Regions from separate parts of the Homo sapiens genome. Here all the other regions are linked to region 6. The links are contacts of gene promoters, found by promoter capture Hi-C in blood cells and fetal thymus (Javierre and others, 2016). All regions are on one chromosome and are shown on one strand. The core of a region is centred on a gene start or on the middle of the fragment in contact, and the rest is flanking DNA. Distances in the headings are between cores, read along the strand shown.

What was found. The method cuts DNA at HindIII sites, captures the fragments that hold promoters and counts their contacts. A CHiCAGO score of 5 or more calls a contact.
Region 1: a contact is called between a fragment that was not itself captured here and the fragment with the promoter of ZBTB18 in region 6, in 1 of 17 cell types (fetal thymus). The highest score is 5.7, in fetal thymus.
Region 2: a contact is called between a fragment that was not itself captured here and the fragment with the promoter of ZBTB18 in region 6, in 9 of 17 cell types (M0 macrophages, fetal thymus, endothelial precursors and 6 more). The highest score is 9.9, in M0 macrophages.
Region 3: a contact is called between a fragment that was not itself captured here and the fragment with the promoter of ZBTB18 in region 6, in 1 of 17 cell types (naive B cells). The highest score is 5.4, in naive B cells.
Region 4: a fragment that was not itself captured here is called in contact with the fragment with the promoter of ZBTB18 in region 6 in 1 of 17 cell types (M2 macrophages); the score reaches 6.9 in M2 macrophages.
Region 5: a fragment that was not itself captured here is called in contact with the fragment with the promoter of ZBTB18 in region 6 in 1 of 17 cell types (fetal thymus); the score reaches 5.3 in fetal thymus.
Region 7: a fragment that was not itself captured here is called in contact with the fragment with the promoter of ZBTB18 in region 6 in 1 of 17 cell types (fetal thymus); the score reaches 7.8 in fetal thymus.

The regions. Positions count from the first base shown.
Region 1 is chr1:243,271,296-243,274,902 of GRCh38, forward strand. SDCCAG8 (SHH signaling and ciliogenesis regulator SDCCAG8) reads left to right here. Exons shown (of 18, transcript NM_006642.5): 4 at 3,248-3,361. Among named protein-coding and RNA genes, the nearest start is that of SDCCAG8, 17 kb to the left of the region's middle. The HindIII fragment of the contact is 931 bases long and covers 1,074-2,004 here.
Region 2 is chr1:243,346,458-243,349,998 of GRCh38, forward strand. All of the region lies in intron 12 of SDCCAG8 (SHH signaling and ciliogenesis regulator SDCCAG8), which reads left to right. Among named protein-coding and RNA genes, the nearest start is that of MIR4677, 2.1 kb to the left of the region's middle. The HindIII fragment of the contact is 6,251 bases long and covers 1-3,541 here.
Region 3 is chr1:243,329,085-243,332,526 of GRCh38, forward strand. It overlaps SDCCAG8 (SHH signaling and ciliogenesis regulator SDCCAG8), which reads left to right. Exons shown (of 18, transcript NM_006642.5): 10 at 1,456-1,608. Among named protein-coding and RNA genes, the nearest start is that of MIR4677, 15 kb to the right of the region's middle. The HindIII fragment of the contact is 1,395 bases long and covers 1,382-2,776 here.
Region 4 is chr1:243,387,177-243,390,358 of GRCh38, forward strand. The region is part of intron 13 of SDCCAG8 (SHH signaling and ciliogenesis regulator SDCCAG8); the gene reads left to right. Among named protein-coding and RNA genes, the nearest start is that of MIR4677, 43 kb to the left of the region's middle. The HindIII fragment of the contact is 2,369 bases long and covers 146-2,514 here.
Region 5 is chr1:243,407,270-243,410,984 of GRCh38, forward strand. The region is part of intron 13 of SDCCAG8 (SHH signaling and ciliogenesis regulator SDCCAG8); the gene reads left to right. Among named protein-coding and RNA genes, the nearest start is that of MIR4677, 63 kb to the left of the region's middle. The HindIII fragment of the contact is 3,882 bases long and covers 1-3,540 here.
Region 6 is chr1:244,049,529-244,053,215 of GRCh38, forward strand. It overlaps ZBTB18 (zinc finger and BTB domain containing 18), which reads left to right and starts at 1,755. Exons shown (of 2, transcript NM_205768.3): 1 at 1,755-1,916. The coding sequence starts at 1,904. RefSeq lists enhancers at 764-813, 2,530-3,031 and a silencer at 994-1,083. The HindIII fragment of the contact is 5,583 bases long and covers 1-2,690 here.
Region 7 is chr1:243,248,190-243,251,508 of GRCh38, forward strand. The region is part of intron 1 of CEP170 (centrosomal protein 170); the gene reads right to left. Among named protein-coding and RNA genes, the nearest start is that of CEP170, 5.4 kb to the right of the region's middle. The HindIII fragment of the contact is 5,300 bases long and covers 1-3,319 here.

The DNA.
Region 1 (3,607 bases), core at 289-2,788, 780 kb before region 6:
TTTGGAGAATTTATTTTGCAACTGTTAGCAAAATATGTAATATAAATATATAATATATAATAAATTAATATAATAAATTATATGTCAGAATATATGTAAAAGATAAAGTCATTATTTTAGTAATTTCTTTTTTAGAGGGTCATATCTATTATTGATCATTTTTAGAAGTTACTTAATTATAATTGTAGCCCTACTTTGTAATATTTTTTAAATTTTGAGTGTCAAAATAATACATTTTATTTTTAATTAATTAATTAATTTTTTTGAGACAGAGTCTCATTCTGTTGCTCAGGCTAGAGTGCAGTGGCATGATCTCGCCTCACTACAACCTCTGCCTCCCTGGTTCAAGCGATTCTCCTGCCTCAGCCTCCCTAGTATTTGGGTTTACAGATGTGCACTACCACACCAGGCTAATTTTTTGTATTTTTAGTAGAGATGGGGTTTCACCATATTGGCTAGGCTGGTCTCGAACTCTGAACCTCAGGAAATCCATCAGCCTCGGCCTCCCAAAGCACCGGGATTATAGGTGTGAGCCACCGCGCCTGGCCTCAAAATAATACGTTTTAATATGTAATGTTCTATATGTTAAAATATATGGTTATAAAATAGTATGATATATAAGAAGTGGTGCTGTATTTCTTCTGAAGTTGTTTGTTATTGCTTTGACAGAGTGTATTATTTCTGATTAAAGCATTTTATATGCTAAAGGCTGAGATAGATGTGAGTGAAAGCACTCTGGACCAGATTTAAGTGGACAAAATAATAGTCAAGGGCTTAGTTCTATCTAGGGTCTATCACATACTCTCTAAGATATTGTGCCTGTCTCACAGAGTTTTTGGAATAATGAGATAAGATTACATACTTAAAATTCTTTAGAAACCTATGAAGTGTTACATAAACATAACATGCATAGCAGCAAGTAACCACCTCACATTTTCAATGTGTTTTCTAGTTCAATACAATGCCTGTATGCTGAAAAGTGTGGAGACATGTCACTTTCTTTTCTTCACCACTGAAATATCAGAGTATCACTCCCATACGAACACTCCATTCCAGGCTGACACATACTTTTAAGCTTAATTCCTACTTTAGAGAAATGTACTTCATATGCATATTCTAAATTTATAGATACAGATTTTATAATTTTAGTAAAACATCTCATCATTTAATGAATTTATTACTATTGACATCTGGTTTCTAGCTTGCTCTTAAGCACAGACTGGTGGAATGCTTTTAAATCTACTAGATGAAGTTGCTTTATCTGTTGAATGCTCAGACATGCTTATTTGCCTTTTAAAGTCTGAGCAGTGATATTATGGAGCTTACTGAATCCAGACAGGCAGGAAGACCTTCACTAAGAGAATCAGTTTAGTACATACAGAGTGCACTTTAAAATACACAAGTCTATTTATATGGAGCTATGTAAAAGAATGGAACTTAGACTCTATATGTATACAGCCTACATGTAATAATTATAAACCATAATAGTAATAATTAGCTTTTTAAGATTATACCTTTAGAATGCACTTTCATAGCCAGTATAACATATTAGAAATACATGCATATATTGAGAGTAAAACTGAGGCACTGTTGAGATGGAAAAAAAGTTATTACTTATTGTCTTAAAATGTAGATATCTAAACTAAAGCCCTTCAAAGTAGACACAAATGATTTCATGTGAACATTTTTCATACAATATTGGCTTGAGCTTTTTATTTTTCACATTGACTTCCTCCTGTATACTCATAGTAGTAATTTATATTTGCCTATCTTCTGAACCTATTGCTATTAATGGAGGATGATTATAATTGTTTGATTTCTACTCAGGACAGATAATTCATTTAATTAGAGTTACTTTGGTTTTTAAATTTCTTAAATATACCAAAAAACCAAAGCTCTATTTTATTTTATTCTGCCATGATAGCTGGTACTTGATTATCATTTAAAATGTCTGCTGTGCTGAGAAAGAGAGTGGCTGAGAAACAGACACTGTGCCTCATTTCAAGCTTTCCTCTGGCTTTGTTTAACTGGTTGACCCTTGTTTTACCTTTTCCTGATTTCCTCATCCTTTAAAAAAAAAATTATGTGATGGGTATATGATTTTACAAACTATTTTAGGATAAGGTAAGCTATACATTAACAGTCAGTTCCAGGAATGCTACAGAGCTAAAATAGCATTAGCGTTTTTTTGAAATCTCTTCGTTGGACCCCTCAATGCAGTGTGTCTCTACTTTAGGGTTCTACTCTTGGAGGTTCTATGCTCCAGAACACCATACACTTGAATTGCCTTCAATACTAGAGCCAAAAATCAAAAACTACATTTTGCTAATGTATCTTTTTTGAGATGGAATTTCATCGCATTGACACTGGCTTGGCATCAAACGCTTCCTAAAGAATCTCTCCTTCACGGAGCTGCTGCAGTTTTAGCTAGCAAATCCTCTTCCATGGCAGTTTCTTGGAGAGAGTTGTCCCTTGTATCTCAGCATTACTGAATGGAATGTTGTTTTTCCAATTTGTTAAAATAGTTTATTCCAAGCCAGTTATACTACTGCTACCCCAGCATTTTTCCATTCACTATATGTGCTTTTTATAACCACTTTCACCATCCATCTTTAAAAAAAATGATATTCACATCCATGAATCTTGTGTATTTGTGGAATTTATAGGATAGAGAAGCAAGTATTTGTATTAGTCCATTCTCGTGTTGCTAAAAATAAATACCTGAGGCTGGGTAATTTATTTAAAAAAGAGGTTTAATCAGCTCATGGTTCTGCAGGCTGTATAGGAAGTGTGATACTGGCATCTCACTCTGGTGAGGGCCTCAGGAAACTTTCAGTCATGGTGGAAGGTGAAAGGGGAGCAGGCATTTCATGTGGTGAGAGCCAGAGCAAGAAGTGGGAGAGGTGTCACATTCTTTTAAACAACCAAATCTCACCAAAACTCAGAGCAAGAACTCATTATCATGAGGATAGCACCAAGATTCATTCATCATGACCGAAACACCTCCCACCAGGCCCCACCTCCAATGCTGGGGGCCACATTTCAACTTGAGGTTTGTGGGGGACAAGCATCCAAACTATATCAAGACTATAAGCTACATTGTGATCGATTCTATGTTTATATCACATCAGTGCAAAATTGAGTATGGAGAAGGTAACAACTGATTCTTTGCTAAATCCAAACATGCTTAATTTGGCTTTTTAAAATTTATGTATTTATGTATTTATTTATTTATTTTTTGTCATAGAGGTCATTAGAACATGAGGAAACCAATATGCCTACTATGCACGACCTTGTTCATACTATTAATGACCAGTCTCAATATATTCATCATTTAGAGGCAGAAGTTAAGTTCTGCAAGGTAAGTTTCTCATTAAGAATTTAAAACTAAATAAATGAAAGCTTATATTAACTATAGATTGTATTAAAATTTGCTGCTATAAATCTTCATGTTTGTAGCAATACATTGACAATTGCTATTCTTACGTGATTGAGAGACTGATGTGTCACAAGAGCTTGTCAGACTTGGGAATGATGCTCTTGACCATACCATTTCTGATTGCTTGATTTCCCAGTAGTTCATTACTATGTCTAATGATTTCATAAT
Region 2 (3,541 bases), core at 715-3,214, 700 kb before region 6:
AGTTCATCTGACCACTTGATACATTTTTAAAGTGGGTGGGAAACTGTGAGATTGGAATGTGTGAGAACAACAGCTTTTTTGATGTATACAAAATAGGGCAAATGGTTAACCACCAAAATAATTTTCCTTGTGACCTGAGCCTTGGCTCTGGCATAATTAGAAGGAAAGGTTAGGAGAGTAACAATGGCAGTCGCTTCCACCCACTTTCTTCTTTTCTTCTTTATATTGTGTCAGGAACCGATGGGCGGATTATCCTTCCCATCAACTCCTTTGTATCTCTTCAGCTTAGAGAATTCCTGTCAGCCTCAGAGGATGCTTCTTGCACCAGAAAAAGAGGCATTTGGTATGGAGGAGAATGTGAAATATGCTCTTTGATTTTTATGAGAAATTTTTTTAGGCAATGGTTATACACACACACACACTCGATCAGGGGAATTTAAAAACATGTATGAGGGTATAGGGAATATTGTAATGAGTCCTCACATTTCCATCACCTACACTCATCATTTTGCCCGTCCTCTTCCTCAGTCCTATTCCATCACTCATCATTTTGCCAGTCCCCTTCCTCAATCCTATTCCATCACTCATCATTTTGCCAGTCCTCCTCCTCAATCCTATTCCATCTATCTCACTTTTTTCTCTCTACTTCTGTCCTCATCGTCACCTTCATCTTCTTTGTCATGTTTTTTCTGCTCCACCTTCTCATCTTCATCTTCTTCTGTCTTCTTCCTCTACCTCTTTTTCTTCTTTTGCAGAAGTATTTTAAATGGATCTCAGACCTTATGTTATTTTACTCATAAATACCCATGTGGATCTATGAAGGATATTTTTACATACTATGTCATTATCATACCTAACAATGTTAACAATACTTCTTTAATATCAAATAACACCCAGCCTATATTCACATTTCTTTGTCTCAAAAATGTTGATTTTACAGTTGGTTTATTCAAATTAGGAGAACAAGTATGTTTTTGTATGTCCAATTTTCTGGTGTTACCCTTTTTAATAGGAAATAAACAGAACTCTTAGTAAAATTTCATCTTTCTTTGTTGTTGTCTGTTAAATTTTGTACATAATGTTTTGATTATGCTTTATTTTTATAAAATGCCTCATTGTCATTCTAAAGAGGTATAAATTAATCCTACAGCAAAGTATGTGAAGGAAATGGCTACCACGCAGCATTCCTGATAATCATATCCCAAAAGGAGCTTCCTCGCATCCGAAACCCCAAATTCAGCATTAATTTCACAGCCTTGTATTTAAGATTTGGACATGTTGCAGGAGGCCCTAACATGACAAGGATGAGCTGACCTGAAATGAGTGATGCAGAAATAGAGTTTTTTTGTCAACTTCCCTTTTGGTAAATTAATCTGAGAAGACGATTCTTTATAGCCGCTAACCTTTGATTAGGGCCCAGTGCAAAGTGAAAATACAGGACCCTTTTGTTCAGAAAGCAGGAAAGAAGTGATATTAAAAAGAACTAAAATATAAAACATTTTCCTTTCTTCTTCAGTCTCTCTCTCCTTGCCCCTCCTCCCTCACCAACCCAGGCTGGACATGCATTTTTTTTTTTTTTCTTTTTTTTTTTTTTTTAGGACGGAGTCTCCCTCTGTCGCCCAGGCTGGAGTGCAGTGGCGCGATCTCGGCTCACTGCAAGCTCCGCCTCCCGGGTTCATGCCATTCTCCCGCCTCAGCCTCCCGAGTAGCTGGGACCACAGGCGCCCACGACCACGCCCGGCTAATTTTTTTTTTTTTTTTTTTTTGTATTTTTAGTAGAGACGGGGTTTCGCCGTGTTAGCCAGGATGGTCTCGATCTCCTGACCTCTTGATCCGCCGGCCTCGGCCTCCCAAAGTGCTGGGATTACAGGCATGAGCCACCGCGCCCGGCCTGGGGCGGGAATTCTTACCTCCCTGTCCAGCTCTAAGATGGCAGGGATGGGCACACTTGACTCAATCCTCTCTAAACACACATTCAGGATTCTGCCAGGGGCAAAAGACACAGGAGAACACACACCTCCCCCAGTGACATACGCACCTCCCCCAGTGCCCTGGTCCCACCCTAGGTGGAGGGACCCACCCCAGCAGCAGGGCAGGGCGGGATAGAGGAAGCTGGAGAGGAGTATATTTCTGAGAACTGCGTAGGGCTGCAGTGAGGCAGTGGAAAGATGAGACCACATACAGGAGTTCAGTCTCCATTGTTCCATCAGAGTACACCTACAAAACACAATTCTAGCCGGGCGTGGTGGCTCACGCCTGTAATCCCAGCGCTTTGGGAGGCCGAGGTGGCGGATCACCTGAGGTCGGGAGTTTGAGACCAGCCTGACCAATATGGAGAAACCCCGTCTCTACTAAAAATACAAAAAAAAAAAAAAAAAATTAGCCGGACATGATGGCACATGCCTGTAATCCCAGCTACTCAGGAGGGTGAGGCAGGAGAATTGCTTGAACCCAGGAGGCGGACGTTGTGGTGAGCCGAGATCACGCCACTGCACTCCAGCCTGGGCAACAAGAGCGAAACCCTGTCTTGGATAAAAACAAAACAAACAAAACAAAAAAAAAAAAACACAATTCTAAGATACAATTGCTAATAATTTCAAGACATTGACCACAGAGTATTAAACTGCAAGTGTAAGGACCCTTCTGAACAGCACATGTGTGACTGCACTGATCACGTGCCCAAGAAACTGCCATAACCAGGGGGATGGGCAAATGGAGATTTTGCATACTAATATATGTGTATATATCCCCACTCACATATACAGACACATATGCATATTCAATATGCTAATGTGCCCAGTATTCATAAAAAAGTGTTAGCCAACTACAGCTCATAGGTCAAGTCTGGCCTGCTGTCTATGTTACAAATAAAGTTTTATTAGAACTCAGCCATACCTACTCATATATGTATCACCTATTGCTACTTCCTGCAACAACAGCAGAGTTGAGGAGTTGTGGTAGAGACCATATAGCCCACAAAGCCTAAAATATTTACTGTCTGACCCTTTACAGAAAAAGTTGCCAATCCCTACCTTGAGTATAGAAATACAACTGTATTTTTTAAGTTTCCTCTGACTTACTAGGATGCTGAGCTTTGAGTTTGAAGACCCATGTATCTTAAATAATAACAATGGTTTTAGAGTATTTTGCAGTATAACAAATGTGCCACATCTTTAGTCTCTTAAAAATCTAATGGCATTACTCAGCGAGTGTATCACTGATAATCATGGCATTTTCTTATTAGTGGCACATGACTTACTAGTGGCTTGGATGGGAGTGTAAATACCGTATGATTTTATATTTACAATTTTGTTTTTAGGTTGGTTCCAATTTTATTTTTCAGAGATAAGAAGGCTGATATAGAAAGCGTCTTTCTTTTTTTTTTTTTACCGGCATTGTATAAATTATAATTTTGGAGTTGTGGCTACTACTGAGTAGAAAACATCAAGTTTGAAATGACTTTAATGGAGCAATCAAAGCAAATATTCAGGGTGGGGTATCTCTGCAAAAGAAATAGATCCAAAAATTTTGGCTGGAAAAA
Region 3 (3,442 bases), core at 829-3,328, 720 kb before region 6:
AAAGTAACTCATTCATATTTCAAGCTCCAAGGGCTTAAATTATAGAAAAAGTATGCCTTTTCATTTATTTTAATATCTAATTTAAAATTTCCTTTTCCAGGCATTCTCGGCTGGAATTTTGACTTGGGACTAATTCCCTAGAAGAATCACTTTTTACTCATTGTATTTGTTTATTAGTTAATCTGAGACAACTGAATTTTACCTTTATATTTTATGCCTGGGAGCATAGAAACTTTTCAGAAGAGACCAAAAGAAACTGGAGTTTAATGCTTTCCAGATGAAGAGAGGAAAATTCACATATCCTAGATATTTATTGTCTGTATTTATTATAGCTTTCACCAGAGGGAAGCATAACTATGCATAAAACTTACAGTGCTTACTAAGGCCATTTCCATCTCCATTAAAATCAAATGTGACTATGAAATTTCTAATCATACAGCATGTAAGTCACATGAGACCTGGGGTTCTTTCTACCATTTCAGGGGAAAAGAGAGGTTGTGTGAGGTGGATATTGTACATAAGGGCCACTGGAATAAGACTATAAGATACTATAGTACCTTACTTTTATTAGGATTTTTAAAAATTGGGATTTTACTATGCAATCTGTGTATGTAACTAAATTACATTTGTACCCCATATATTTATACAAAAAAAGACCTCCCCAAATTGGGATTTTTGAAGTCATATTTCATTATTGGGTGTTATAAATAAAGATATTGTAAAAGTGGCCAAAATGAAGTTAGAGATTTTTTATTTCTGGAAATGCAGAGTGGGAAATTTACAGTAAAGGACAATCATGAACTTTACCAGAAGTGGAAGATCCTTATAAAACTAAGTAGTGAATACTGTCTTGAGTCTTTCCATTTAACTTACGATTATTACATAATTTTTACTTCAGTTGTATGTTTAAGGGGAGTGAACTAAATTTTCTCTTAGTTATATTTAAGGAAACTTGATTATTATATAGTATTAAACAAAAGATGCCTGTGTGTAATGATATATTCAACATTTCATTTTAGTATTTTGATCTATCATTTGAAGTATTCCAATAATTTTTATCCATGAGCAAATAAGAAATCAGTTAAATTGGATACTTACGTATTTCGTGTAGTATAAACATGATATATAATTGAAAATATTAGAACACTTGGTGTTTCTGGTTCCCTTTTTTAAAATTCTGACTCATCTGTGGCCGTCATCAAGGTTCATTACCTGAATTTTGTCATTGATTAATTAATATGGCTTTAATCATGAAAATTGAAATATGTCAATAAATGTAACATTTGGATACTCTTTTAGGTCAATAAGTGGTATTGATAAACAATAAAAAATTATTCTAATGGGCTTTATAGTGAGTTTTTGCTATTTTAAATATACTTAAAGCTTAATTATGTCATTTTACCTATATTTTTTCCAAATTCTAACCTCCTCTTTCAATCTGTTCTATCCTGGCAGGCTTTAATCCAGTGTGACCAGTTGAGGAAGGAGCTGGAGAGGCAGGCGGAGCGACTTGAAAAAGAACTTGCATCTCAGCAAGAGAAAAGGGCCATTGAGAAAGACATGATGAAAAAGGAAATAACGAAAGAAAGGGAGTACATGGGATCAAAGGTACTTAAGGACTCTGCTGTTATCCACATTGCAGAAGAAAGGTTTTTTATGATGCCATTGATGATTCCATAGGCTGGAGTTCTTGAATGAACTTTAAATTTTAAAATCGTTATTATATAAGTAGTTAAATTTCGTATAATTTAGAATTCATAAAAATGTTTTATCTTTTCATATATTTCTCAATAGTTTATGCTGATCTTTTCAAATAAAATAATCAGTTAGATTCCATACAATGAAATTACAAAATTTACTTTAAATCCTGCCATTCTGTTGGATTCCCTCTCTCGTGTTTCCCAGAGTCGTGCTATGAAGATACCCAGATTTTATTTCAACCTTGGCTAAATCAAGGAGAGATGACTTCCCCTGCATTATCTCCTACCCCTAAATTAAATATGCAGAAGATGAAACACTTGTAAGGAACTGAGTAACCAAGAAAAAGTGATTATGCACTCTGTATGAAATCAGTTCTGACAAATTACATGATGAATAATGACGGTAACCAGATGAAGGGAGAGATTTAAGGCAAAAGGAACAGATAACATGAAACAAGCAGTGTTTGAAAAGGAGTTCACAAACTAGAATACAGAGTTGAGTGGGACCTAGCTTTAAAATTGCTAACTAGACTCGAATTGAGCAAGTTGTGGTCCATCAAGTAACCAAAACAACTGTGTTACATGTTTGTTTTTAAAAGTGGACTCACAGCTTGTACTCTAAATGCTATGTTGTTATCAGATTCAATGTGTGATAATTAACTTATTCAGTAAGTATATACTGAGTATGTGCTGTGTGCAAAGCAATGTGGAGGCCTAAAGATATGTAAAGAGAAAAATCACAACTTCTGCCCTATGAGTTTTAAGTCTTAATAAGAGTAAACTCAGGCATTTCCTGTAAATGTCCTTGTCTTCTTATCCATTTTTAAAAATTGTGTCTGTCAAAACCCTACTACCTACCTTCTCTGCCCTGGATTGGTGATCTCTGCTGGTAAAAATCACACAGCCTTGCAGATGACATGGCTGTAGACTCCAGGTCTTCGGTGTCCACGGTCCTTTCAGTGCTTTCTAGCAGTCCTCTTTTGCCTTCCTCTCTCTTATTCATTCCACACTCAACAGATATTAACCAGAGGGGCTGGGAATGTTGTAGTCACAGGAACGATGCAGTTTCCTCATGAAGCTTACAAACTCGTAGGAGAAGTAGATGTTACACAAATGTTTTCATAAGTGAGTTTTCGATCATCATTGTGATAAAGCCATAAGGTTCGGTTTAGGATATCGTGGGAATGTGTAACAGGAATCTGACCTTGTCTAGGCAGTCACGAAAGACTTTCCTGAGTAAGAGATGTTGAAAATGAGACCTGAAAGCATTGATGAATGGACAGGTGAAGAGGGGAAGAGGGTTTCAGGCCCAGGAATATAACACACCCAAGACTCTGGACCTGGAAAGCATCGCACTTTCTAGGAATTTGGAGAAGGCCCTGATGGGTGGAGCATAGAGAGAGAGGAGCAGAGTAGTGGGAATGAGTTTGGAGAATTATGTTGGGATGGAATCATGAATGGCTTTAAAATCCATATGAAGGATTTTCAATTTTGTCCAAAAAGGGATGGAAAGCCATTGAATGGCTTTGAATTTGTCAGTGTCACGATGCCATTTATATTTGAGAAAAATCATTTTGTCAGTGGATTGGAAGGAGAAGCAGAATAGATGCCTGGAGATCAGCTGGAGGTCATTATCGTAGTCCAGGTCTGGAGGTGACTCACAGTCCAGGTCTGGAGGTGATTATCATAATCCCCCTCTGGAGGTGATTATCATAATCCAGCTCTGGAGGTGATTTTCGCAG
Region 4 (3,182 bases), core at 80-2,579, 660 kb before region 6:
CCACTTCTTACCGTTTATGTGATTCTTATTAACTGCTTACTGAGACATTCTTTTCCATACCTTTTGCCCATGTACTGAAACACATTTTTTTAAATCCTGCATTTTTTTTTTCTTGTATCTGATCTTGAGGGGAACTACTGCAGGAAGCTTTCTTTTGTTTATTATCCAGAGAATTTAGAACTCGGATTGCCCTAAGTACAAAACCTTAAAAATTCTTATTTCTCCTTTTACATAAATGATCTTTTTAATAATATGTATGTACTTCAAAGAATTTCTCAGAGCAGGAATCTAAGTGAGAGTCCACCAAACAGGTATTATACTGTGACCTACTTTTGTGATCCAGATGGGAAGATCTGACCTGTGACCTAGAGAGACAGCAACTTGACCTATAGGATTTGTGTCTTTTTGAAAGTGAGAAAAGGGTACAGCAGAGGAGTCACTAGGTTAACCTGTTATGATGGATAGATCATGTGGGGAGAGTGATAGAGGCTGCCTTTCCAGGGCTTTCAGTTTCCACATAGTAACTAGTACAGTTACTTATTTGTTTCTTTAATTTGAAGCAAGAGTCTTGCTCTGTTGCCCAGCCTGCAGTGCAGTGGTGTGGTCTTGGCTCACTACAACCTCTGCCTCCCAGGTCCAAGCAATTCTCGTGTCTCACCCTCCCAAGTAGCTGGGATTACAGGTAGGCACCACCATGCCTGGCTAATTTTTGTATTTTTAGTAGAGACGGGGTTTCACCATGTTGGCCAGACTGGTCTCAAACTCCTGACCTCTGGTGATCTGCCTGCCTTAGCCTCCCAAAGTGCTAGGATTACAGGTGTGAGCCACTGTGCCCGGCCTCTAGTACAGATATTTTCTTGAAATTAATTGTTTGACCTCCCAGCCTATCCATACGAGTCAGGACTTTTTGGGTGAACTGAAATCCAAAAAGGAGAAATTGATAAATTTTTATAACTAGACCATGTACAATCCAGGTGCAGCTGGACTCAGGGTTTCCTGGAGCCAGCATGCTATCATATTCTAACTTTCCAGAACAGGGCTCAATTTCTATCTGAATTTTGCTAATTCTTTCAGATTCTTTCATACCATGAAGTAAAACATCTTTCATTCTGAAATTGATGATAAAGGAAATACCTTTGATTTCAAACTGTAAGAATGTGACTTCCTAGCTCCTTCACTTCCAATTTCAAAACCTTTGGTTAGGATCACCCTTGGGCACACACACGCACTTTTGGGTGCTGTGGCTGGTAGCCTCTTCAGAACCACATGGAATAAGGGAAGAAAGTTTCACTAAGTAAGGGGAAGTGCTCTTACTAGGGGAAAGGTGTCAGGGATCCTGGGTGAGTAAAACACCAAGTATCTGCACTGTTGCCCTTGTTGTCTTTTTAAAAATATAATCCCTGGTCAGGTGCCATGGCTCATGCCTGTAATCCCAGCACCTTGGGAGGCCAAGGTGGGAGGATCACTTGAGGCCAGGAGGTCAAGACCAGTCTGAGCAACATAATGAGACCCCAGCTCTACCAAAAAAAAAAAAAAAAAATTAAAAAATTAGCCAGGCATGGTTGTGCATGCCTGTAGTCCTAGCTATTTGGGAGGCTACATGGTGGTGCGCGCCTGGGTCCTGGCTACTTGGGAGGCTACGTGGTGGTGCGTGCCTGGGTCCTGGCTATTTGGGAGGCTACATGGTGGTGCATGCCTGAGTCCTGGTTATTTGGGAGGCTACGTGGTGGTGCGTGCCTGAGTCCTGGCTATTTGGGAAGCTACGTGGTGGTGCGTGCCTGAGTCCTGGCTATTTGGGAGGCTACGTGGTGGTGCGTGCCTGAGTCCTGGCTATTTGGGAGGCTACGTGGTGGTGCGTGCCTGTAGTCCTGGCTACTTGGGAAGACTGCTTGAGCCTGGGAGTTTAAGGCTACAGTGAGCTTTGATTGCCATCGCACTCCAGCCTGGGCGACAGAGCGAGACTCTGTCCCCCCTCCCCCCCCCAAAAAAAAAATAATAAATAAAAATGCAAGTCCTGATTTTTCCTCTAAGAAATGGTTTCAAGTGGAGAGAGGGGAGTGAAGTGCACATTTTTGTCCATGTATGTTGGAAAATGATATTCTCCATTGTCAACATGTGATAAGTCCAAAGAGGCATCATCAGTTCTTCACAACAACAGGGTCTCTTTGTTGTTTTACTTAGAAAACTCTTAGAATATAAAAAGAAAGAAGCACAGCTAAATCTCTAGCATGCACATGTATTGTGCTTGGTTTCTGCATAGTGCTGTTCCAGCTGTGGCCCATGATGGCTGCTTGTTAGTGTCTATGGCAAGATAAGTACCGGAATCTACAGAAGTATTTGGCAAATTTTATATCAATTTTAAATTGTCACAATTTTCAAGCGCATGATCAATGAGCTTTTTTTGGGGGAGTATCTTTTAAATTTTTTTCTAGTAATTCATTTTTATTGTGTTTTAAAAAACTATTTGCAAAAGATTAGAAATTAAAACAAATATGCTGATCATTTACCACAAGAAGCTTGAGATGCTATGCTTCTCACTGCTTCCAGCAAGCCTAAGAAAAAACAGTCCTTTATAGATGAGGAAGCCGAGCCTCCGAAGGGGAAGCTTGAGGTTGGGCATCCAGGAGGGAGGAGAGTAGGCAGGGGATGAAGGGCAAAAGCTTGTTTCAAACTGAGATAGAAACACTTTTGGTGTTGTAAAATCTCAGCACCCAGACCAGGAAGCAGGTCTCTTTCATCTCTGTGCCCCCAGCACCAAGTCAGGCACTGGGTGTTTAGCAGATTTTCTATAAACATTGAGTAAAGTTCCCTTTGCTCTTTATTATTGGGAAAATTAAAACAAAAAGTTGGGGGGAACTCATCTTAAGATAACAACAAGCTTAGGTCAAAAAGCCAAACTCATTATCTGTTTATTTGAAGAGGATATTATAACATTGATGTATATTCTTGCTATTTTACAGTGAACTTTATCTTTTTTTTCCTCCTGAGTTTTATTCAAGAATTTTTAGCCTAAAGTTTCCATTTCAAAGTTAAGCTCATTTTTTTCTTGTACTCCTTTCATGAATAAATTAAGCAGAGAATGTGTCAAAAATAATTTTAAATGGATATATGTGCAACCAACATCTTCAAGGCTTGAAATAGATGGCCTTGGTGCTGTTTTAAATTGCGTCCTCTTTTCCTTC
Region 5 (3,715 bases), core at 350-2,849, 640 kb before region 6:
TTGGATTCCAGCTTTGCTACTTACTAGCTGCATGGCTTTGAGAAAAATCTCTTAATTCCCGAGTTTGAGACACTTTATCTATCAAACAGGAATATCTGTTCCATCTCTCTGCCCCACAGAGATGTTATGAAGAATAGAGAGGTCGGTGCATTTGAATGTGCCTTTTAAAATAGAAAGTACAGACATGCAAAGGGTGATGCGCTAGTAACTGGAGTTGATAGAGTCTGTGGTTTTGTTTTAAAAGTAGATGGGAATTGTGCATATGTAATAGAAACAGGCAATAGCTAGTCTACTGTATTGTCTTTTGCCTTGAAGGTAAGTTTTCAAATTATTTTGGAGATACTGTAAGAACATTTTTGGAGGGAAAATTATTTTTAGAGATGTTTCTGTTAAATATTTCCTTTCTTTTGTGTATATTCCCTTGAAAGAAGTTGACCTCCTTTCTGTTTCTGCTTTCTTCCCTAGAAGTGACTCATTCTCTGATCTGATAACTCATCTTTCAACATTGTGCTTGAAGTTCTGACATACTTTGCAATGAAGAAAATAGAAGTAATTTACTCCAGGAAATATGCCATTAAGTCTTTTGCATACTTAAGGAAGTAGAGATTCCAGAATCTCATTCCTGTGTTTTCCTTTCTGTTTCTTCTCAGTAGTTCCACATTTGCTCAAATAAGGGAATACAGCCCCTGTTAGCTGTAAATAAGCATAGAATTTTGGGTTCTTCTGAAACATGGAAGACATCATGCTGTCTACCAATTTTATTATTGTTTTTGTTTTGTTTTATTTTCAATAATAATAATAAATTCTTGCAAAAATAGAGATTATCTTATCATATTCTCTGACTGTAGTCAGTAGACAGGATGATACTTACACCTGTGAGGATACTTAGTACTTTCCGTCTTTTAGTAGTTGATCATTCATTCATTCGTTTATTCATTCATGAAATGTTCATTGACCACACAACTGTGTACCAGGCACTATTCCAGATTTTCGGGATAAATTAGTGAGCAAAACAAAGGTTCCTATTCTCCATGGATTTAGATTCCAGATTGATGCACATGTCTTATCTTTTCTAGAGTCTGTGGCCACTTGAGGCAGGAGATGTGTTTGTGGTACCTTTCAATGTTTTTGCAAAGGTGAATATATGTCTTCGAGAAGGACACAACTAATTGATGGTGTCATTGTAGGAGAAAGTAATCCAATAGCTTAGGGGACAACAGGGAAAGAAGAAGGAGAACTAGCTTGGGATTTGGCTGTCAAGATGGATAATATGGCTATTAAATGGCACACTCCCATATAGATAATTGAAATAGACACTTGTTATCCTTTCAACCTTCTCTCATTTCTCTACATCCCTGATAAAAGAAGAGACTGAAGCATAGTGATTCACTGTGGACTTTAGAGTCAGATAGCCCTGGATTTCCTGGCTGTAACCTTTAATAACTAAAGAACTTGGACATACTGTATAACCTCTCTAGGCTCCCATTTTCTTATCTATAAAGTGAAGATACTAAGAGAACCTACTTTATATGGTTGGTATGAGGATTAAATAAAAGAATGCATGTAAAGACCTTAGCTTATGTGTAAACATTAGTAATTAGTAGCTTCTTAAAAGGATTAGTCCTTTAAGGTTGGATTTTCTTTTTGTTCTGCTTGAATGAAGAACCCCAGTATTAAAGGAAGAAAGTTATTAGTCTATAGTCACACAGGTGATAAGGTGGTAGATGCCATACTCTGACCCTCTAGCTCTGTGAGTTTGGCTGTACTCCATTGCCTCTCAAGGTGTCATCTTCCCAGAGCACAAAGAGAATAAACTCAAAAAGTACCTATACATTTGTTTAAAAAACAAGGCAAAACAAAACAAAACTATAAGCAAATATTGAAATCTAGTTACTAGTAGATTTGCTTTCCATAGATTATTAATTTTGAAACTACTTTCTGTGTATTCCAAGTTTGAACAAACAAGTATGTTGAGGATAATAGGAACCAAGTTTCTTACTATTGAGGAAAAAATTACAATTATGGAAAAAAGGGAGACAAGGTTCTATGTATGTTGTTGGATTGTAATTGGAAAGACCAGTATGAATGTGTATGCATATATTCATATAGGATACAGACAAATATTTATATTTATATTCACATTTATACACTTACATGTATATTCATATCCAGACTTAGTCCACCAAGGTGACCTAGAAGCAATGATTTTGCAGTAGCAGTGAGCACCACCTAGTGACAGATCCTGATTTCTAAATACCATTCTCCATTAAAGGCACAAAAACAGCTCCTTGGTCAAATGCTGATTCCAAGACTGGTACAAGGACATTACAAGATGAGCCTGCAACATTTTGTGGAGATAGAAAGCCACGTGAACAATAGAGACATGTCACGTAGGAACCACCTTGAAAGGGTTCCCCCTGGCCAAATCCAGGATAAATTGAGCATAAAAATAATAATCATAATGGATTATAACCCACTGAATAAGATATGAATCCATGACTCCATGCTGATATTAATGAATTAATAAATGAGAGAGAAGGGAAAGCTCTTTCTTATAATACAATGTTAACTAAAAAATAGAGAAAGAATAATGGAGTAAAAAAGTCATTTTTGGATGTAAAACTATTAGATGAGAGCTCGATGAAGAATAGGATGTTTGCATAGTCTAGGCATCTCCCAACAAATTACCTCTTACTTATTAGGTTGGAGCAAAAGTATTGTGATTTTTGCCATTAAAAGTAATTACTTTTGTGCCAACCTGATACAGAGAGGAAAGGAGTAACTTTACAGTAGAGAGGCCTGGGACAGCTCACCTAACTGCTGTTTTGCTGAGTCTGACTTGTACCAGCCCATGAGAGCCAATTATGTGTATTTCTTCCCAACTTGGTATTCAGTGATGTCACTTTGGTAGCTGAAAATAGAGCATGGTGGAAGTGTCTACACTGAAAATTGGTGAATACTACCAAAGAGGGATTTCCTGTCCCCTGGAGCCCTGTTGTTAAATATCGTCTGGCACACCAATGATGTTAATCAAGCTATCAAAGCTAATAGCACCAATATTGGGACAGGTGTACATTTTCTGTCTAAACTCACATCGGTACCCAGCACCTCCCTGCCCCTTCTGTCTGTATTCCTTAATGATTTTCAGCCAGTAAGCATGTTATAAATTCTCACAAGTTTTTTCATACCAATATGCTACTATCACAAAGCTCACAAAATTTTATCTTAAAAGGGAAACACCTTTTAGCCAAAAGAGTTGTATGTCTCACATTGGAACTTCAGACATCAGTAAAAAGGTGAGTAGGAACATGGAAGGTGGGATTGGTGCTTCAACCCCACAACTACCAGGTCCTTGTTCCAGACTTGAGCCTTTCATTTTTTCTGTCCCAGGGTCATTGTTGAGCTAAATTTAACATCATTAGAAAATGTACTTTAAAAAATCTGCTTAACAAATCATTTTTGCTCTGTGACATGAACATTTTTTAAATTGCAAGATTTAAAATAATAAACGATATGAAAAAGTTGAGTATCAAAAATATAAGCTTAATGCTTCAGTGCCGTTTCTAAAAAGTGGGATGGTAAATATCATTGTGACCATTTTTAGAAAATGCAATCAACCAGAACTATAATTGGTAAAAAGGAATGACTATGCTTCCATGTATATGTAATCTGTGTTTGAGGCCTAGCCAGTACTTGTTCACTCCTTTAATTCTGA
Region 6 (3,687 bases), core at 505-3,004:
GCATCGGGGAAGCGGTAGCAACCACTCTCCTCCCGCTGGCTGCTTCTTACGACTTTTCTTTTGTTGTTGCCGTGACCCGGGTCTGTTTTCTCCTCTGTTGTTTAAGGTGTTTTCCTGCTGCACCGGCTCTGCGCCCTCCACCTCCTTCCCTGTGGTTTTAACCTTCCTCTTTCCCCGTGTGTTTTATGCACGGCGAACTACGTAAAGATTTGCATTGCTTCCCCACTCGGCACCCCCGCCCCCACCTCTCTGAAAAACAAAACCCCAACCTCACAAAACCTCTATGGATCCGCGGTAGCGAGACGTGAAGGGGTTGATTTGTGGAGTGGGAGTTGCTGGCCCATTGCGGTGCCCGGGACTCATTAAACTGTCACTCACCCCCCACCCCACTGGGTAAATGGGGTGATTAATGTCTGATATATTGGAATGGGTCGAGGGCATTTGTGGAGAATAGGTGGTGTGGCTGGGAAGAAATTGATCTCCCGAGGATGTCTCCTGGACTAAGTGTTCATAATTATGTCACTCACCGCGAAGTTGGAGAAAGTTAGGTTTGTGACTTTGGGAAAGCGAGAAGGACAGGACGGAGTCGTCGGGTTTTGTTACTCTTTAACTCTCCGCCACGGCTTTCTAATGGGAACGAAGTGGTTATCACCAGGGCTGGGACGCTGGCGCCTCAGGCCCCAGTTCCTTTTCTACCCCTCGCCCTCCCAAGAGTCTGAGGAGATGTATTTGACATTCAGAGATGTCGCAGCACCCTGCCCGGTACCGGTCAGCCCAGCCCGGGTCGCGTTACAGTTTCATCAGCTATTAGAAAAGACCCACAAACTGGCTGAAAAGTTCTCAAACTTACTAGACCTGGCTTCCCCCCACACAAAGATTTTCTTGTGATCATAAACATTAGAGTGACCCCCCCCCAAAGAAAAAAAAGATTGTTAAGGGACACAGATCAAGGGGAAGGCAAGGTTCTGCTTTTTCTGAGCAGAAAGATCAGATATGCAGGTGCAGCATTCATTTTAAGTGACTGGAGCAGGTTGTATCAGTTTATTAATTGGTCTCGTTGAACTGAAGTACTTTCCAGGATTTCAGAAAGTGCAGTTTCAGCTTGTTGGTACCGAGAATTGAAATTTGCATTGACTGTGGCAGTGTAAGAAATTTTTCTGAGAAGGTAGTTGTAGATAAGTAATTACATAAGAGTGAAATAATAAGGTGAACCAGTCTGAAGTAATAGTTCTGAACAAGTCTGCCAACATTTGAGACATGTATACCATTATCTCAGCAGAAAAAAATAAAAAAGTGCGGTAATAATGTTGAAATGGGACTGGAGATGTCAAATGGGTTGGTTTAAAAATATCCCTAAACTGCTTTAGAAACTAAACGTTGGAGTTGAATAAAAGTGAATCTGGATTTCCTGAATAGCACCGTGGCTTGAGTGTGCTGTCAGTATGTAAGCCAGTCCACCAACTTAAGACAGAAGTGTTGCTATTCCATAAATACAGTAGAACTCCATATGCTGAGTTTTTCAATTTCTTCTGTTAGAAAGTTTGGAAAAAAAGGAAGACTTTGAAGTATTTTGTTTATACTAACAGAAGAGAAAAGTTCTCCTAAGAAAAAGCTGGTGGCAGGAGTGTAGAGGAGTAGCATATGGCATTAAAAGGAGCACAGCTGGAGGTAGCATTTCCATCTGAACATGATGTCAGAGCAGCTGACAGCCTGCCATCCCTCAGCCTTTTATTCTAACACACAGACAGGGAGTTAGTGTGTGCGGATCTGTGGTGGAGAAGGTATCTCATTCCTCTCTAACATCATCTCCACTTTGCATCTGTCTCTCTTAGTCTGCTTTTTTTCCACCGATGTAACAGACCTGGAGCCAGCAGGACTCAGAGGAAAGGACTTAATCAGGTTTATGTGTCCTAAAGGTAGGAGTAGCAAGAGATTAGATTGAGCATATTTCTGTTTTGGTGTTTTGTTTATTTAATTTTAAAAATCACATTACTTTTCTAACCCAGTTTAGGAATAATATATGAAATTGAGTATTAAATGAACATCTTACTGGAGTTGAAAGTCTTGAGCTTGTTTAGTTTTAATTTTTTATCCCTTTTACTTGAGCGAGTAAATAACTTTAATACACAAATATTTCAAGTTTTGAAATGTTAAGAAAGGCTTTAAAATGCTGCTTTTGGAAATCACGTTGGATTAAAATGCTTTTTTGTTGTTCACTGCTATTTAGATTTGATTGGGGTGGTGGTGGTGGGGAAATAGTAAACTGGAATCCAGCATTCAAACTTATATGAGAAGATTATTCTAGTTAAGCAGCTAGATTGTTGTATAATTAATTCCTCTGTGAAACTTTATTCTTCAAAACATTGAGCAGCACTACTGAAACATACAGCTGTAGTGCTGTTGAAACTGCAGGTTTTTAAGAAGAAGAAAAAAAAACCAAACTTTTGTCCCCAGGAGAATAGTTTGACTGGTTTCCTCATTTCTCTTTCAAATATATATTTAAGAGATCTTTTATTTCAGCATAACAATAATTATTTGCAGGAGTTTTTGTGTTAGCGACTAATTTAGAACTTGTAGATTTGAGCTGCCTGAATTGGCCAGACAGCTGTAATCGCACTCCTCTATTCTTAATCTCTTTATCTGGGCAGCAGCTGCCATATGGCCACAGTCAGCTGGATCAGATGTTTATAAGCTTCCTTCTTCGTCCCTCTCTGTCCTCTCAGCCTCCTAATTTGATCACGGCTACCTTGTGAGCTGCCCTCCAATCTTTATTTTTAGCCTTCTCAAGGATTAGGATTGATGTTAGCTGTGGGGCACTTAAAGTGATTGTATTGTAAATCTTAGTTTATTCTAGCAGTGGCATCTTGCAGAATGTGTCTGGGGTTAGGATAAAGTTTTAGTCTGTCTTGGGCAAAGTGTAGAAGAACAAGAAGAAAGGAAGTAATTTCTGAATATTAAATTAAGTGTATCTATTCCCAAAATGCACTTGCTGAGATGGGTGGTGTGGAGGCTTGCTTCTGGTCACAGGAAAGGGGAAGTCGGGTCTTCTTTATTTTTCAGGAGTTTACCCACTGCAGTTGAATTCTGACCCTTTGTACATCTTTGCCTTTCTCCTCCCTCCATTTCACTTTCCCTCATCACAAAACAAGGGCAATGATGAATATTTGCAAGAATAGAAGCTAGTGGGAAAACAGAAATATATCAAATTATATTGAAACAAAGTATTTTCTGTTGGCTGAGGTAAGGCAGAACCAGGAAAAAAAAAAAGGTTCTCTTTTTCTAAAAAGGCTTAAAAAAAAACGTTGAACCTGTAAAGCTTTTGAGTTTTATTTAAGCGCTGTATGCCTTTATTTTTAAAAGTTTGAATTAATTTCAATATGAAACTCATTTTGCCTTGCAACGGATCAAAGTTTAGATGAGAATTTTCGGAGTTCAGTAAAGCCCCTCTGGTTCCTAATATTCTGAAAGTACAGTTTCTACAAAGAAATGTAACTACTTTTTTCTCAGTTCGTTTTGAAAAATCTTTGGATTTGTTCATAGTAAAGATGATCTTTTCCATCTGTTGGTGCAGCTCCTTCTGATCTCGTACATGTGTGCTATACCTGCAAATCTGAAGGCATTAACATCTGTTTTTATACACAGGGCTTTTGTTGTAACACCCTGACTTTAAAAGTAAGTTGTTTGCTA
Region 7 (3,319 bases), core at 320-2,819, 800 kb before region 6:
GAGGATACTGCCTGATTTCTTATGAAGTATTTAGGTGATTAAAGGTGATACAGGGGACTGATCACTCCTTATCTCTAAAAATACTTCCTTTACTTGGCTTGTGGGACAACACACTCTTCAGTTTCCTCACACCCCACTGTCCACTTTTCAATCCTCCTCGATGGCGCCTTCTCTTTTGCTCAGCTTTCCATGTGGAAAGTACCAATTCTCAATTCTTGGATCTCTTCTCAGTCTAACTCCCTAGCCAAGAGATCCCTTTAAGTCTACTGGTGATGCTTAACATTTAACTATCCTCAGTCCAAACCTCTCCTCTGAATGCTTGACTTACATATCTAACTGCCTACCTGATGTGTCCACTTGGGCGTTTAACAGACACTTCAAACTTAACATATCCAAAACATTTGACTCTCTAAAGCCAGAAACTAGTAACTTTCACTATTGCCACTACTGTCGCTCTAGTCTAAGCCATTAATGTCTCTTAAACCAGATCATTCCAATCATTTCCTAGCTTATCTCATGGTTCCCAGTGTTTTAAAGAATTCCCAGAGCCATTCTTTAAAAATATAACCCAATTTTTTGGCTTTGCTCAAAATCCTCCAATGAATGCTCATAGCACTTAAAATCAATGAATAAAATCTCTATGCAACCTCATTTCCTCCTATAAGCACCTTTTCCTCACTCACCTTCAGCCACAGTGTTCTCCAAATTCACTTATCCCATTCCTGCCTCAGAACCACCGCACCTGAGTAGAATACTCTCCACTCAGATACCTACAAGATGCTTCCTTACCTAATGCAAGTTCTCTGCTAAATGTCACCTCAGAAAGAGGGATTCCCTAACCACTCTAAGATAGTTCTCAAGGTGTAGCATAGTGGATAAAGAGGCTATTTTTTTGTGTCATAGAGGGGACACAAAATATGTATTTATATTTGCTTGAGGTGAAGAAAAATTCATGGCCAGGCGTGGTGGTTCATGCCTGTAATACTAGAACTTTGGGAGGCTGAGGAAAGAGGATCACTTAAGCTCAGGAATTCAAGACCAGCCTTGGCAACATAGTGAGACCTCATCTCTACAAAAAATTAGCTGGGCATGGTGGCGCACACTTGTAGTCCCAGCTACTCAACAGGCTGAGGTGGGAGTATTGCTTAAGCCCAGCGGGTCAAGGCTGCAATGAGCTGGGATCCTGCCCCTGTACCCCATCCTGGGCGACAGAACAAGACTCTGTCTCAAAATAAATAAATAAATAAATAAATAAATAAATAAATAAAGTTCATTGAAGAATACATAAGAAATAATAAAAATAGCTACTTACTGGATTGGCAAAAGTGGTAACTCAGCAGATAAGATGTAGGGTGAAAAGGTTTTTCATATTATTTCTTTTCAAAATATTATTTGAAAACTACCTGAATGAACACTTGAAAACAAATGTAAAACAGCAGTCCTCTACCACTGTCTCTTTACCTTGATTAATTTTTCTTCATAGCATCTATCCTTACTTGACTTTACATCGTAAAAGAATTATCCATATCCTCCAGTATATTGTAAACTTCATCTAATTCCTTTACTGCTGGAGGATATAATGGTTTTCTCTTTAATTTAAAAAACAAAACAAGGCCAGGCGCCATGGCTCACACCTGTAATCCCAGCACTTTCAGAGGCCTAGGCAGTGGACCATGAGGTCAGGAGATCAAGATCATCCTGGCCAACATGGTGAAACCCTGTCTTTACTAAAATACAAAAAATTAGCCGGGCGTGCCTGTAGTCCCGGCTACTCGGGAGGCCGAGGCAGGGGAATAGCTTGAATCCAGGAGGCAGACGTTGTAGTAAGCCGAGACTGAGCCACTGCACTCCAGCCTGGCGAGAGAGCAAGACTCCGTCTCAAAAAAACAAAAACAAAAACAAACAAAAAGGCCCCAAAAACAAACAAACAAAAAAAACCCATCCGAATGGTTTTCATTATTTTTGTGTCACCTTTCCTCCCAGCATCTTTTATTTATGTAACATTCATTCTATTTATAAATGTGCATGGCTTTGTCCTTGGCTATATTAAGTATATGGCCAGGATGGAGACATAAGAGTTTGGCTTGTTGAATTTATAAATGTCAAAAAGCCAGGAAGGAAAGCTAATCCCTTGGATGACAGAATCATGATTCAAGAAGATCTCAAGTTTTAACTATAGCTACGTTCACGGAGATGAAATTTAATAGGAGGCAATGGTAAAATACTGGTTTAAAAACATCACCTGTGTGTTTATACACAATGGGAGAAATCTAGCTAAGTGTAAAAATGTTGGTTTATGTTGACTACATCAGTGGTTTCCAGACCAATTTTTCAGAAAACAAATTAAGAATCAACATAAGGCTGCCAACTTTTTATTGGTTAATCAGGAACACTAAAATAAAACAAAACCCCATGACCAACATCAAAAGAAACTTAACCTATCATTACTTAATAGGTGTTACTAACACTATCATTTAATAAAGGCCATTTATGAACATTAGAAAAGGAGAACAAAATCTCAAAAAATAGTACCTTGAATTACATAAATATAACTTGAAAAGCCATGTAACATTTCTCTCTCTCTCTCTGCTTTTTGCTTTGAATTAGCAGAGATGACTGTTGTTAAAGAGTTGATACAATTTTAGACTTTAAACACAAGTGTATGGCTTGAAATAAGGAAAGGGACAATTTCACTGCACTTTGCATTCAGACCATAACTGCAGAATTAAATATGGAAACAAGATCAGAACACAAAGAATAGCACTGACAAAACTGATTGAATCCAGCTGAGAGATGTGAGGGATGGCAAAGGAAACCATATGAAGTTGGAGGTGTCCTAACATTTAGACAAGAGAAAATCTAGCTAATATATTGAGAAAAACCTTACTTCATCTTACTCCTAAAGACTGAATTGCAACCAGTGGGAAGAAGTTATATAGTAAAAGCAGCTACTAGCTCAATTTAAGTGAGATCTTCCTATTACACTTTTTGGAAGCTAAACAGGCTTTCCTATGCCCAGGGAAGGGTTTGTGGAGAAGTTGGACCCAATAACATCTCAGAGATATTAGTAGTGGGTGATACATTGTATGAGCTGACTTCTAAAGTTCCCTTGAATTCTAAAATTTTATGAACCAGAGTAAGGAAATAAGTGGTACCCTTTAACTTACTAAAAAAGATGAGTAGAAAGAATTTTGGCTTTAGCCAAAAAGACAAAGGTTCAATTATAGGCCCTATCACTTAGGAATGTGTAACGCAGAGGCAAAGTTATTCACTAACTCTATGCTTCAAATTTTTTCAATGTGTAAAAATAATACCTTAA